Regions from separate parts of the Homo sapiens genome. Here regions 1, 3 and 4 are each linked to region 2. Evidence: promoter capture Hi-C in human tissues and cell types (Jung and others, 2019). All regions are on one chromosome and are shown on one strand. Each heading gives the region's core, a stretch centred on a gene start or on the middle of the fragment in contact. The rest is flanking DNA. Distances are from core to core; before and after follow the strand shown.

The links. Contacts are between HindIII fragments. The study calls those that stand out against the background at their distance.
Region 1: the fragment with the promoter of PLEKHJ1 here is called in contact with the fragment with the promoter of APBA3 in region 2 in 1 of the 25 tissues and cell types used here (hippocampus).
Region 3: a contact is called between the fragment with the promoter of KDM4B here and the fragment with the promoter of APBA3 in region 2, in 1 of the 25 tissues and cell types used here (heart right ventricle).
Region 4: a fragment that was not itself captured here is called in contact with the fragment with the promoter of APBA3 in region 2 in 1 of the 25 tissues and cell types used here (dorsolateral prefrontal cortex).

The regions. Positions count from the first base shown.
Region 1 is chr19:2,234,559-2,238,157 of GRCh38, reverse strand. PLEKHJ1 (pleckstrin homology domain containing J1) reads left to right here and starts at 1,829. Exons shown (of 6, transcript NM_018049.3): 1 at 1,829-2,003; 2 at 2,168-2,235; 3 at 2,330-2,396. The coding sequence starts at 1,910. SF3A2 (splicing factor 3a subunit 2) reads right to left here and starts at 1,334. Exons shown (of 9, transcript NM_007165.5): 1 at 1,257-1,334. It overlaps MIR6789 (microRNA 6789), which reads left to right and starts at 2,232; the gene lies at 2,232-2,329. RefSeq lists silencers at 1,049-1,148, 1,759-2,388 and enhancers at 1,569-1,618, 1,197-1,805, 2,414-3,022, 3,025-3,599. The HindIII fragment of the contact is 10,839 bases long and covers 1-3,599 here.
Region 2 is chr19:3,759,783-3,763,166 of GRCh38, reverse strand. APBA3 (amyloid beta precursor protein binding family A member 3) reads left to right here and starts at 1,475. Exons shown (of 11, transcript NM_004886.4): 1 at 1,475-1,631; 2 at 2,866-3,384. The coding sequence starts at 2,903. It overlaps MRPL54 (mitochondrial ribosomal protein L54), which reads right to left and starts at 485. Exons shown (of 3, transcript NM_172251.3): 1 at 349-485. The coding sequence starts at 466. LOC105372248 (a long non-coding RNA gene) reads left to right here and starts at 527. Exons shown (of 3, transcript XR_936268.1): 1 at 527-609; 2 at 961-1,018; 3 at 1,313-1,413. RefSeq lists an enhancer at 122-611 and a silencer at 1,273-1,590. The HindIII fragment of the contact is 13,428 bases long and covers 1-3,384 here.
Region 3 is chr19:4,967,845-4,970,960 of GRCh38, reverse strand. It overlaps KDM4B (lysine demethylase 4B), which reads right to left and starts at 1,848. Exons shown (of 23, transcript NM_015015.3): 1 at 1,731-1,848. RefSeq lists an enhancer at 359-408 and silencers at 1,675-1,974, 2,285-2,384. The HindIII fragment of the contact is 14,440 bases long and covers 1-3,116 here.
Region 4 is chr19:5,627,254-5,630,683 of GRCh38, reverse strand. All of the region lies in intron 2 of SAFB (scaffold attachment factor B), which reads right to left. Among named protein-coding and RNA genes, the nearest start is that of SAFB, 5.9 kb to the right of the region's middle. The HindIII fragment of the contact is 7,366 bases long and covers 1-3,430 here.

The DNA.
Region 1 (3,599 bases), core at 580-3,079, 1.5 Mb after region 2:
CAGCTACTCGAGAGGTTGAGGCAGGAGGATGGCTTGAGCATGGGAGTTTGAGGCTGGAGTAAGCTGTGATTGCACCACTGCACTCACTCCAGCCTGGGTGACAGAGCAAGACCCTGTCTCAAAACAAACAAAAAACCGATGACGACCAGGGGAAATGAGCTTAAGAATTGAGGAAAAGTGGCCTCTGGGACCTGGGACTAGACCATTGAGAAGGAATTAGTTTTTCGTGGCAACACCGTTCTCTCCTTAACCTAGCCAACAACCTATTTTCCAGAGCTCCGCCTGGCTGTTTGGTGTCGTCCAAGGATACACAAGAACAACGGTCACAGCGGGGTGCACCTGCAAAATGGGGCCAGCTAACGTGTTCTGGTCGCCTTTGGCATGATGTTGAAGCCGTCACTCCCATTTTAAGGGAACTGAGGCTCACAGGAATTACATCACAGAGCCCCAGTCAACTAACAGGTATAGATGAGCATACAGAAGCGTTCTCGGCTACAAGGAAGGCGGCCGAAACCATTTCAGCCGCGATCCCGATTCGACCCCAACGAATCTTGGTTGTTTCTTTTTTATTTTGTCAAACAGGGTCTTGCTCTGTTGTCCAGGCTGGAGTGCAACGGCACAATCACAACTCACTGCAGCCTCGACCTCCTGGACTCAAGCGATCTTCCCGCTTCAGCCTCCAGAGTAGCTGGGACTACAGGCGCGCGTCACCAACCACGCCCGGCTAATTTTTTTTTTTTTTTTTTTTGCAGTGATGGGGTCTCGCTATGTTGCCCAGGCTGGAGTGCAGTGGTGGGATCATGGCTCACTGCAGCCTCGACATTCCGAGCTCAAGCGATCCTCTCGAGTAGCTGGGCCTACAGGTACAACCACCACTCCTGGCTAATTTTTTAAAATTTTTTGTAGAGATGGGGGTCTCGGTGTGTTGTCCAGGCTGGTCTCGAACTCCTGGCCTCAAGCGATCCTCCCGCCAAGGCCTCCCTGAGCAGTGAGATTACAGGCGTGAGGCCCCGCGCGCGGCCTCCCAACAGGAGTTTGGAAATAGAGTTCCTGGCGGGCCCGACCCTCCAGGCCCGCCCAGCGCGGGGCCTCAGGATGCACAAGGCCGGACGCTCACGGGAGGAGGGAGGGGAGCGACGCCGCCGCCCCACCCTCGGCCCGCGGCCTGTCGCAAGCGCCTCTCTCCTACGTCCGCTGTCCCCCAGGGAACCCCCGGTCCGCGTCGGCCGCCGCCCTCAACCGCCTCTACTCCTCACCAGAGCCCAAGGCCGCGTTATCTCCTCCTCGTTTCGCCACCTCCACGACTTCGTTTGGCGAACGGCGGGCAAAGAAAGCACTTCCGGGGCAAATGAGACGGGCCCTCTGGTGTGCGCATGCCTGGCCCGCCCAGCGGCGTGAGTCAGAGGGTCCCGAGGCGCGAAGGAAAAGGCTGGAGGGGGAGAGGCTGAAAGCGCGGCCTGGAAGGCAAACTGCGCGTGCGCACAACGCTCTCAACGAACCCTCGGTCCGCTGCGGCCGCACGGGGCCAACTTTCGCGAGGGAGCGGCTGACACTCTCCGGGCGACGTTATCGCTCCCTCCGCCTGCGCCTGGCCGCTCTAGAAAGGGGTGCCAGCCATCGCTGGGGTGCCTTGATTCTGTTCCACCTTGGTCCGGTTTATTTCAGTTTAATGGTTATGTAACAACGGTCCGTCTCTCCTACCAACCGGTACCCCGCCCACGCCAGCAGCCACGGGTCGCCAGCGCCACGCAGCGGAGGCGGGCGGCATGGCTGGCCCAAGGTGCGCAGGCGCACTAGCCCTGGGGGTGCTTCCGTGTCTGCGCCCTGAGACATTTTTGGCGCCGGCCCCAGCCTGAGCGGGGACGGCGGCCGGGAGGGCGCGGCCCGGGTTCCCGTTCCCCGCGGAGCCATGCGGTACAACGAGAAGGAGCTGCAGGCTCTGTCCCGGCAGCCGGCCGAGATGGCGGCCGAGCTGGGCATGAGGGGCCCCAAGAAGGGCAGCGGTGAGCGGGACCCGGGAGACCGAGACAGTGCCAGGGGCGGGAGGCCGGGGCCGGGGTCTGGGCGGGGGTGCCGGAGGCCGGAGTCCGGGTCGGGGCGCCGGGGACGGGAGGCCGGGGTCCGGGCGGGGGCTGCCTGCGCCCCTGAGTGCGCGCTGTGCCCGCAGTGCTGAAGCGGCGGCTGGTGAAGCTGGTGGTGAATTTCCTCTTCTACTTTCGGACAGACGAGGCCGAGGTAGGGGCGTCCCGGGCGCGCGGGCGGGTCCCAGGCTGGGCCCCTCGGAGGCCGGGTGCTCACTGCCCCGTCCCGGCGCCCGTGTCTCCTCCAGCCCGTCGGAGCCCTGCTGCTGGAGCGCTGCAGAGTCGTCCGGGAAGAGCCCGGCACCTTCTCCATCAGTGAGTGGGGCTAGGGAAGCCAGCGGCGCTTCCCGCAGCCCGGGGCACCCGCAGCGCCGCACTTTCCCCTCCCCGGGCGCCCAAGGTCTCCTCTGTGTCCCCAGCCTGGCGCCACCCTCCTCAAACACAAGAGTGCATTGTCCACGGGCAGCTCAAGGTCAAGTTCTCCTGGCGGGCACCACCCTTCCCACCTGCCGAGTCCACTTAAGCTTGGGTCCCTCCCAGACTCTGCTCTTTGTTCCCTGTGGGCCCAGGCTGTACTTACAGGGCAGGTGGGCCAGCCCCACCCAAAGCGTTTCCCCAGCTGCCAAGAGTAGCATGGGTCTAGCATTGTTATATGGCCCCGGGCTGGAAATCCCAGGTGGGGGTAGGAGGAGTGAGAGGGGGGTGTTCTCCTGGGTCTTAAGAGATTCCCTTCTGCGGGGAAAGATGGAGTCCCTGCTAGTTTGCCCAGAGTGGCTGTCAAAATTCCACAGGCCAGGTGGCTTAAATATCAGAAACATTCTCTACAGTTCTGGAGGCCAGAAATCCTAGATGAAGGTGTGGGTGGGGCCGAATCCTTCTGAGGCCGAGGGGAATCTCCCAGTTCCTAGTGGTGGCCAGTATCCTCCAGGTTCCTTGGCTTGTGGAAGCGTCACCTTGTCCTCCTTGCATCACGTCTGTGCCCACATTTCCCCTTCTACACAGACGCCAAGCAGAATTTAGGGCCCACCCTGACAACCCCTTTTTACTTCACTTTATTATTTTATTTGCTTATTTTTTGAGACAGGGTCTTGGTATGTCGCCCAGGCTGGAGTGCAGTGGTGCAATCTCGGCTCCCTGTAACTTCCCCCTCTCGGGTTCAAGTGATTCTCCTGCCTCAGCCTCCCGAGTAGCTGGTACTACAGGCACGCGCCACCATGCCCAGCTAATTTTTGTATTTTTAGTAGAGACGGGGTTTCGCCATATTGGCCAGGCTGCTCTCGAACTCCTGACCTCAGGTGATCCTCCCACCTCGGCCTCCCAAAGTGCTGGGATTACGGTCTTGAGCCACCGTACCCGGCCCTCTTTATTTTTGAGACAGGATCTTTTGTTTCCGAGGCTGGAGTGCAGTGGCGTGATCACAGCTCACTGCAGCCTCAACCCCCTTGGCTCAAGCAGTCCTCCCACTTCTGACTCCGGAGTGGCTGGGCCTACAAGGCCCCACCACCACACCTGGCTAAT
Region 2 (3,384 bases), core at 226-2,725:
GAACTGGAACCCAAGTTCATGACCTCCCCAGACTCCCTTCAAATCCTTTCCAACCCGCGCCTGCGCAGTGAAACGCGTGGTCTCCACGTAACCACATCCTCCTCCCAGGCCGCTCCGCCCCAAGCTGGCGCCTGCGCCCTGGGTCCAATCGCTACAGTATCTCCGAGCCAGACGCCCGAGCTCCAAGCGGCGCTGGGTCCCTCAAACTGCGCCTGCGCATACAGCCTGGCATCCGCCTCTCTGCGCTTGCGCATCAGTTCTAGCACCACCTCCCCAACCACCGCCTGCGCACTGTCAATTCCTCAGTGCACCCACCGTCCCCATTTGGTTCCTCTTAACCCAGCTCACCTGGTTTCTTGGCATAATCCCGGGCCAGGAGTCTTCCGGAAGTGGCGGGGTTTAGGAGCTCCCAGGCCCCCCAGCCGGCCCACGTCCGGGTAGCCCCGAAAAGGCGTTTGGTCGCCATGACGTATTGCGGGCAGCTTGCAAGTGCACGTTTCCGGAAGACGTCAGTGGCCCAAGGGTGTTTGGGAGTTGTAGGCCCCGTGGAAGTGTAGGCCCCGTGGAGGTGTCTGGGAAATGCGGTCTCCCAAGCTTTCATAATCTATGGTGATTTCTTCAGACTTTTGTAGACATACACAGTTACTATAGGAGGAGGCGTTCAAGGGATATTTCATTGACTTCTTGCCCTTCTTCAATTACATAACATTTACTAAAAATATCACACTTTATATGTTCCTGATTCCATCCAATGAGTAATTATTCAAAGCTTTAAAGTTAAAAAAAGAAGATTAACAATGAGTCTAATATACTCCAGTAGGGCTGGAGTCTAATCACTGTTAATTTTTATAACATTATATTTTTAAAATTATATATAACATATATAATACATATAATATATAGTATGTTTTATATATAATATATAAATTAATAATATATATTTTATATATTCTTTTCCAGCTCTACTACTGCTAAATCCTTAACCCGCTTGATCTAATTTAATCCTCACAATTGAGAGGTAGGTACTATTTTTTCCCCAGCTTATAATGAGGAAACTGAGTTCTCAGGGAGGTAAAGTTCCCAGGCCGACCCCAAATCCATGGTGCACCTATGTGTCTCCCTACTGTGAGCCAAACCGAAAGTCCGTCTTTAACAGGGTCTCCACGACGCTTCCGGTGCCTCAAGGTCCCAAGGAAACCACCTCTCACACTTCTTTAATATTTCCCAACCCCACTTCTCCCCATCTGCCATCCTTTGGAATAATGAACACAGCCCCCAGAGCCAGGCAGTGATTATTAACCCTATTTTGCAGGAGAACAAACAGGTCCTGGGGCCAGCCGGGGCAGTCTGCGGGCCGGGAAGCCTGGGATTCGAACTCCCCTCCAACATCTGCAGTTGTCCCAGCGCCCCCGCGTGGCGAGGCTGGGTGGGAGAACTACATTTCCCAGCAGGCCTCGCGAGGCCGCGCATGCTCAATGGGCCAGGGCTCTGCGCGGATAGAGGAGCGGGCGCCGGGACCGGGAATCCCCGAGCTGCGCCTTCTGGGGACGCGGCCCGGGCTACGTCGGGGCCGTCCGTGGGGAGCGGGGTCCTGGAGGCTGCGCGGGGCTGAGGCGGCCTCGATTTGGGAAGTGAGTGTCCTCGAGGTGCAGAGCGCAGTCTGAGTCGGCGCTTGAGGTCTTCGGTCTGAGGGGGGACTAGGGTCTGGGCTTGGGGCTGGGTCCTGAAGTCGGGGTCTGAGTCTGGAGTCGATCTTGGGGTAGCATTGGAGGTTTGGAGACTGGGGTCCGCCTTATGGCGTCTTGGGTCTCTGGTATTAAGTCCAGGGTCCTGGGTCTAAAGTTCTGGATGGAGGTATTGGGGGTTGAGGTCATGGGACTGGGGTCTTGGGTCTGGGGTCTTGGGGAACTGCCTCTGACCAGTCGGTAGAGTCAGGGTGTGAGGTCTGGGTCTCCAGCCTGGGTTCCGCGTCTTGAGGGAGGAGGACCTGGAAGAACCAGGGCTGGAGTGAACAGACTCCATTAGTTGAGAGAGGTCTGGGATGACACAGGGGCTCGGGAAGCCACTGCCTCACACCTCCCCATTCTGTGGCTCAGTTTCTTCATCTGTAAAATGGGAATCCTAACTTCCTTGCAAGGGTTAGTGGGTATTAAATTATGTGCCCTGTATGAACAGTACCCAGCTAGAGCCTAGCACCGGATAGGCAGCCGGGAAACCTCAAGTTTTTTGTTTTTCGGGTTTGTTTGTTTTTTTTAAGACAGGGCCTCACTCTGTCACCCAGGCTGGAGTGCAGTGGCACAATCAAGGCTCACTGCAGCCTCTGCCTCCCCTGGTTCAGGTGATCCTCCCACCTCAGCCTCCCAAGTAGCTGGGACTACAGCCTACACCACCACCCCTAGCTAGTTTTTTTTTTTTTTTTTGGAGATAGTCTCGTCTGTCGCCCACCTTGGAGTGCAATGGCGCGATCTCAGCTCACTGCAACCTCCGCCTCCCGGGTTCAGGCGATTCTCCTGCCTCAGCCTCTTGCGTAGCTGGGATTACAGGTGCCTGCCACCACACCTGGCTAATTTTTTGTATTTTTAGTAGAGACGGAATTTCACCATGTTAGTCAGGCTGGTCTCAAACTCCTGACCCCATGATCTGCCCGCCTCGGCCTCACAAAGTGCTGGGAATTACAGGCGTGAGCCACTGTGCCCGGCCTTAATTTTTTGTATTTTTTGTAGAGAGAGGGTCTTGCTCTGTTGCCCAGGCTGATCTTGAACTCCTGGGTTCAGTCAGCCCTTCTGGGCCTCCCAAAATTCTGGGATTACAGGCATGAGCCACTGCACCCGGGCGAAACCTCAGTGCTGACTCTCTCTCTTTCAGCTGCCTGAAGATGCCGGCCTAAGCCTGGAGTCCAGGCATGGACTTCCCCACAATTTCCCGATCCCCTTCGGGGCCTCCAGCCATGGACTTGGAGGGGCCCAGGGACATTCTTGTGCCTTCGGAGGACCTCACCCCTGACAGCCAGTGGGACCCTATGCCAGGAGGCCCCGGCAGCCTCAGTCGGATGGAACTTGATGAGTCAAGCCTTCAGGAGCTGGTGCAGCAGTTTGAAGCTCTGCCAGGCGATCTGGTGGGCCCATCCCCAGGTGGAGCCCCCTGTCCCCTACACATTGCCACAGGCCATGGCCTGGCCTCCCAGGAGATTGCTGATGCCCACGGGCTCCTGTCTGCCGAAGCTGGCCGGGATGACCTGCTGGGCCTCTTGCACTGCGAGGAATGCCCGCCTTCCCAGACTGGTCCTGAAGAGCCTCTAGAGCCTGCCCCCCGACTGTTGCAGCCCCCTGAGGACCCAGATGAGGATTCTGACTCCCCAGAATGGGTGGAGGGGGCCTCTGCTGA
Region 3 (3,116 bases), core at 599-3,098, 1.2 Mb before region 2:
CTCTAGGCCAGGACAGTCTGACCCGTCCTGGTGTCGCCGGCTCAAGGAGGGGGAGCGCCCGGACCTGCCAGGTGTCCAATCAGACACACGGAGACGAGGCTGGCAAGTCCCAGAAATCCTCGGCTCAGACAGAAGTTGACTCTACCACGGCTTTACGCTCCGACCTTCAGGGTTTCAAAACATAAACTGCAAAGCGGAGAGAGGATGCCCACTGCTTCAGCAGGGGCTGCAGGAGAAGGCTGACCCCGTGTGTTGACAAACCCTCCTGGTGGCTCATAAGGAAGCTATTATTGGAGAATTAGGGGAGTCATTAGCTCCCATAACGGCAGTGATAAAAGCCCATAGGAGTCGTCTAATGAGCCTGCTTTAGGACTGGTGCTGTTTTTAGGAGCATTCTCCAGCCCGGGGACATTCTGATAAATGGCCATTGAGGCAGAGGACTGGGGCAGGGCACCGATCCCTTGAATTCAGTCCAGTATCCAGAGATCCCAAGACAGTGCAGGCACCCGGTGGGACCCAAAGGAACTTGCTGAATACACGCCCCAGCCAGAAACACATGGAAAAAGACGCTCTTCACATATGACAGGATCACTAGGCTCCACGGAGCTGAACCACCTTCTCACTAGTTTCACAACTCGGGGAACACTTCCTCACAGGGTGCTGGTAAATTATTAAAACAGAAGCATCCTCCCCCAAGCAAACAGATGGGATGCACCCAAAAGCAGTCCATGCCTCCACTGCCCCCAGGGGCGGAAAACATGCCCCTTAAAACCTTCCACCGTGCCCAGGTGGACAGAGTCCCCCGTCCTGCCTGATTGTCATGGCCACCACTGAGCGCAGACCTGGGCCCTGGCAGACCCCAGGTCAAGCAGATTTCAGAGCGAGTCCGTCCCCAGCTCCCAGGGGGATGTCCACGGGGGACACAGAAAAGGGGTCTCGGCGGAAGCAACTCCTCAATTCATTTCTCTAGAGCAGGGGCTTCGTTCGAGATGGCGATCAGGCTGGAAGGGGGAGGGACGGAGAGACTCGTGGAGGCTGCCGTTGCATAGCAAGATGATTTTTTTCTAAAATCCAGATTGCATATGCTTATGGCGGGGTGGGGGTTTCGGGTACGTACAGGGGGGCAAGTTTGGAAGCTACCAAGGCATAGCAGGTTGACCGGAGGTGGGGGCAGTGCAGGAGCAATGATAGGCATTTAGGGGGCATCCCTGGGTGTCCAGCTGGGGGGCTTCCCCTTAGCCCCCCTGGCGCCCAAAGGGCCAGAAACGCAGGCGGGGGTTACCCAGGGGCTGGGGTCTTTTTCCTTTTTCTTGCTTTCTTTCAAAAATAATAATAATAATAGGCCGAGGCTTGTCCCGGGTGATAAAAGGGCCCGGCCGGGGCCACCCACGCTGTCATCTTTTGTGCGGGGCGCCGGGGCCGTCTGTGCCCAGCCCCCGCGCGCCCCCGGCCCGGGAAGGGGCCCCCGCTCCCGCCCCTGGGCGCGCCCCGCCATTGTCCGGCCCCGCCGCCCCCGCCCGAAAACCAGCGGGCGCCCCCGGGCCGGGCGGTTAACGCCCCAACCGCCCCGCCGGCCCGGACAAAGCGCGAGGCCCGGCCCGAGCAGGCCGCGCCCGAGGCCTGGGCCTCGAGTCCCGGGCGCGCCCGCAGCCCCGAGCCGCGACGCGGGGGCGGCCATGGCGGCGGGGTCCGCGCTCGGACACGGCCGGGCGGCCTCCCCGTGGGCTCACCTGAGGCGGCGTGCGCGGCCCGGTCCGGGAGCAGCGGCGCGCTCTCCCCCGCCCTCGGCGTCGCACCCCCAGGCCCCGCTCGGGCCGGGCCCCGCTCGGTTGCTGGCGACCGAGCCCTCCGCAAGCGCTCGCGGGGGGGCTTATAAGGCCGCGCGCCAGCTCCGCCCCGACTGCCATTGGCTGCCGGATCCACGCCCGAGCGCCCATTGGCCGGAGCTGACAGCTCCGCCCCTCCCCTCCGCCGGGCCCATCAACACCGCACGGCCCGCCCACCGCGCGCCGCGATTGGGCGGGGACAAACGCCGGCCTCGCCTCTTCATTGGCAGACCGGCGGGGACACGCCGGCGCCCACCCACGTGCCCGCTGACCGGCTCTGTTCTCATTGGAGGGGGCGCACGCCAGCCAAGGCTGCCGCGACCAACCCGACGGCAGCTGGGCCTTGGATTGACAAGGGAGCCTCAGGGCCCGCCCGACGACCGCACAGAGAGGAGCCAGTATTGGCTTGAGGGGCCAGCCCGAGGCGCGGACAGGCTGGGGCAGGTGCCAATCACTGCCCGCAAGCTCCGGGCCCCGCCCTGGTTATCAGGCGGCGGCTGAGTACGTGAGACCCAGCACAGCATCAGCACCGGCCGGGAACGTGCAGGCTGGAGGTTCGAAACCCGTGGCCGGAATGTGGGCTTAGCGTTCCCCAATTTGCAAAGTGCCAAGCAAGGAGACATAGCGATCCGTTTTGCAAAGGAGGAGAACCGAGAACATAGGGTAAAGCAGCAAGAGCCTCCACCCCGCCACCGTAGGTCTATTCCCATCACAATCAACAAACCTTTGCCAAGGGGCAAGGCCTTCGGAATAGTTAGGGTCCCTCTCCCCGAGTTCCCTAAAATGTATGGGAGAGAATGAGCTTTGGTGCTTTCTGACCTGGATTCAAAGCTAAGCCGGGCCCCATGCCTCACTGTGGTTGACCTCCAGCAAAGTAACCTCGCTGAGTCTGTTTCCAACTGTGCAATGGATATGATGGTAGTGGCCACACCCCGTCTACCCGCCTCTTGAGAATGTTGCAAGGATTAAGTGGGATGAGGCACGGAGAAAGATTTGACCCTGTGACTTCACAAAATGAGCATTCATTGTGTACTGGACCACGCAGGGGTGTGAGGCATGCCCCCATTTGGAGTGGCAGGAGTGTAAATTGGGCAATTTGACATTTTCTAATAACATTCTAAGTGCATCCACCACCCGATAACCCAGCCAGCAGTTCTTCCTGGAGGTGATGTACCCAGAAAAAAGGTCTGGAGCTTACACAATTCAAGAATGCCGGCGGCAGGGCTGTCTGCAACTGTTTCCAATGTTTTGCACTAACTATCCATCAGTGGGGGATTAGAGAAGTAACTT
Region 4 (3,430 bases), core at 51-2,550, 1.9 Mb before region 2:
CCCGGGTTCAAGCGATTTTCCTGCCTCAGCCTCTCAAGTAGCTAGGATTACAGGCGCTTGCCACCACACCCAGATAATTTTTGTATTTTTAGTAGAGACAGGGTTTCACCATGTTGGCCAGGCTGGTGTTGAACTCCTGACCTCAGGTGATCCACCTGCATCGTGGGATTACGGACGTGTGCCACCGCACCTGGCCTTACAGTCATATTTTTAATAATTTAAAAGCAAAGAAGTCCTTTTAAAGCGTAACATAAAATCTAGAAGCCTAGTGATCAAAATACCACAAGTCGAATCAGATTAAATTGAATGACAGATTAAAACAATAGAAACATTTTATATGAGTCTTTATAACTCAATAAGACAAACAACCCAGCACAGAAATCGGCAAAGGGCATGAAAAGGCCATTCAGACGACACAAATGTCCAATTATCAGAAGAGTATAATCTGTGAAGAAATGCAAACGAAAATCTCACCTGCAGAAAAATGCAGATAAATACAATGAAATACTTTTCTTCTATATAACAGGCAACAAGGTAACAGGCAAACAAGGTAAGTTTGATGTTGAGTTTAGTGAAATAGGCACCGTCACCCATTGTTGGTAGGGTACAACCTGGGACAGCTTTTTGTTTTTGTTTTTGTTTTTGAGACAGCCTCACTCTGTCGCCAAGGCTGGAGTGCAGTGGCACTATCTTGGCTCAATGCAACCTCAGTCTCCCAGGTTCAAGCTATCTTCTTGCCTTAGCCACCTGAGTAGCTTGGATTACAGGCGCCCACCACCACACCTGGCAAATTTCTGTATTTTTAGTAGACGTGGGGTTTTGCCATGTTGGCCAGGCTGATCTTTTGATCCGCCCACCTCAGCCTCCCAAAGTGCTAGGATTACAGGCGTGAGCCACTGAACTTGGCCGGGACAGCTATTTGTAAACTAGCTATGTGAAAATAAAGGGCCATATCCTTGGAGTCTAGAATTCTCCTTTCACTAAGTTATCAAAAATTATATTACTTTGACCACACAAAGGTATTTATCTCTGGTTCGTGCAAACACTGAATGTTGGAAGTACCGAGTGATAATTGGAAATAAAAATCTCCAAACGTCTAGTAATAAAAAGACTGATGGGCTAAATTGTGTATTTATTCATACAGAAGATTATTAGCCTGTTAAAAAACAGTGAGATTTTGTATAGCAAGATCACGGGTTTTTTTAATGAAAAAAATATGCATACAGGTGTGTGCACATACCTATATATTTACTTTTTTCCCCCTCTCACTCTGTGCCCAAGCTGGAGTGTAGAAGCACACTCATGGCTCACCGCAGCCTTGACCTCTTGGGCTTAAGCAATCCTCCTACCTTGGCCTCCCTAGTAGCTGGGACTACAGGTGTGTGCCACCATGCCCAGCTCATTGACTTTTATTTAACTTTTTGTTTTTCTAGACACAGGGTCTTGCTCTGTAACCCAGGCCTAAGTTTACTTTTAAACATTGTACATACACACACAGTCTGGAGAAGTATGCCTAACTTTTAGTAGTGGGCTGTCCCGACTGTGAACAACTTCTGCTTTTTACTCCCATGCACGTATTTTAAAACCTGCCGGGCGCAGTGGCTCACAACTGAAATCTAAACGTTTTGTGGGGCTGAGGTGAAAGCACTGCTTGAGGCCAGGAGTTCAAGGCTGCAGCGAACTATGACTGCGCGACTACCCTCCATCTGAGTGACAGAGTGAGAACCCACCTCAAAAACAAAACAAAAACAGCAACAAAAGCCTGTAGTACAAGTATTTGCTTTTATCAGAAGAAAAAGGAAAACAAAAAAGGAGATCCACAGGCTCTGTTTTTTGCTTTTATTATTTCTTTCTCCATTGATTTTCCAGGACTCTTTGCCTTGGCAGAAGTATACTTGAGTAAAGGCAAAAACACGCAATGTATCATGAGCCACAGAAGTGACTTCATTCTGCTGTTCTCCCAGCACTTACCCCAAACACTGTGGCTGACACTGGGGCCTGACTCTCAGATATTTAAACCCAGTACTTCACCACCAAGTATTAGTTATTATCTCATTTAGTTTTGGGCCCTGAGAACCAGGCCTTCAATTACAGGTTGGGCAACCCTATCTGAAACTGAAACCTTCTGAGCACTGACATATTGCCACAAGTAGAAAATTCCACACCTGATGTGTGGAATTAGTGAAAGTTTTGTTTCATGCACAAAATTATAAAAAATATGGTATTAAATTATCTTCAGGTGTATAAGAAACAAATTTCTTGTTTAGATTTGGGCCCCAATCCCAAGATTATCTCATTATGCGTACGAAAATACCGCACAAAATCCAAAAAATGAAACCCTTCTGGTCCCAAGCATTTCAGATAGGGAAAACTCTACATGAACCAAGAGAACATTCGGTCTACAAGCCCAGCTTCAGCTGATTCTTTTTTTTAGGGGGATGGAGTCTTGCGGTCGCCCAGGCTGGAGTGCAGTGGTGCGATCTGGGCTCAGTGCAACCTCCACCTCCTGGGTTCAGGCAATTCTCCTGCCTCAGCCTCCTGAGTAGCTGGGATTACAGGAGCCCGCCACCACACCTGGCTAATTTTTATATTTTTAGTAGAGACGGGGTTTCATCATGTTGGCCAGGCTGGTCTCGAACTCCTGACCTCAGGTGACCAGTCCGCCTCAACCTCCCAAAGTGCTGGCATTACAGGTGTGAGCCACGGCGCCCTGCCTCAGCTGATTCTTTCTTAAGCCAATAGTTGAGTGTTACCAAGTTAAACCATTGAAGGGGAAAGAAAGATAAACAAGACACAGCCCTAGTCCTCATCAATCTGCTCTTGACAGAAGGCAAGATGACATAAATATTAAACCAAGGGGTAAGGAACTATGCCACGGGAGGACAGAGGACCCAAGGAGACGAGTTGCTATTGGTGGGATGGATCAGTTGTCTTTTGAGGAACTAGGTCTCTAAGGCAGACAGATGGGGAAGGGTGGGCGGAGCGAAGTCACAGAGAACCAGGAGAGTAAATCACGTGTTTGGGGCCTGACTAAAGCACAGGGTGTGGGGGATGGGCAAGAGAGATTTCGGTAAGATGGTGAGAGTCATGTCATGTGGAATGTGACTTTTACTGTATAAGCTGCTTTTAAAAGAAATGTTAAAGTGACAATTCTGTTTTTGCCAAGTGCTGTTTATAAGGGATGTTATTTTCTCCAAGTCCAAGCAATAGGAGGCTCAGGCAGTCCTACTTTTTGGACTCCATGTTGGAGTTCAGTGGTGCCATGATAGCTCAGTGCAACCCTGAACTCCTGGGTTCAAATGATCCTCCCGCCTTAGCCTCCCAAGTAGCTAGGAAAACAGGCGTGCCTCGACGCCTAGGTACTTTTTTTTTTTGGCAGTGGATAGAGGCAGCCCAGGCTGGTCTCAAACTCCTAGACTGAAACCATTCT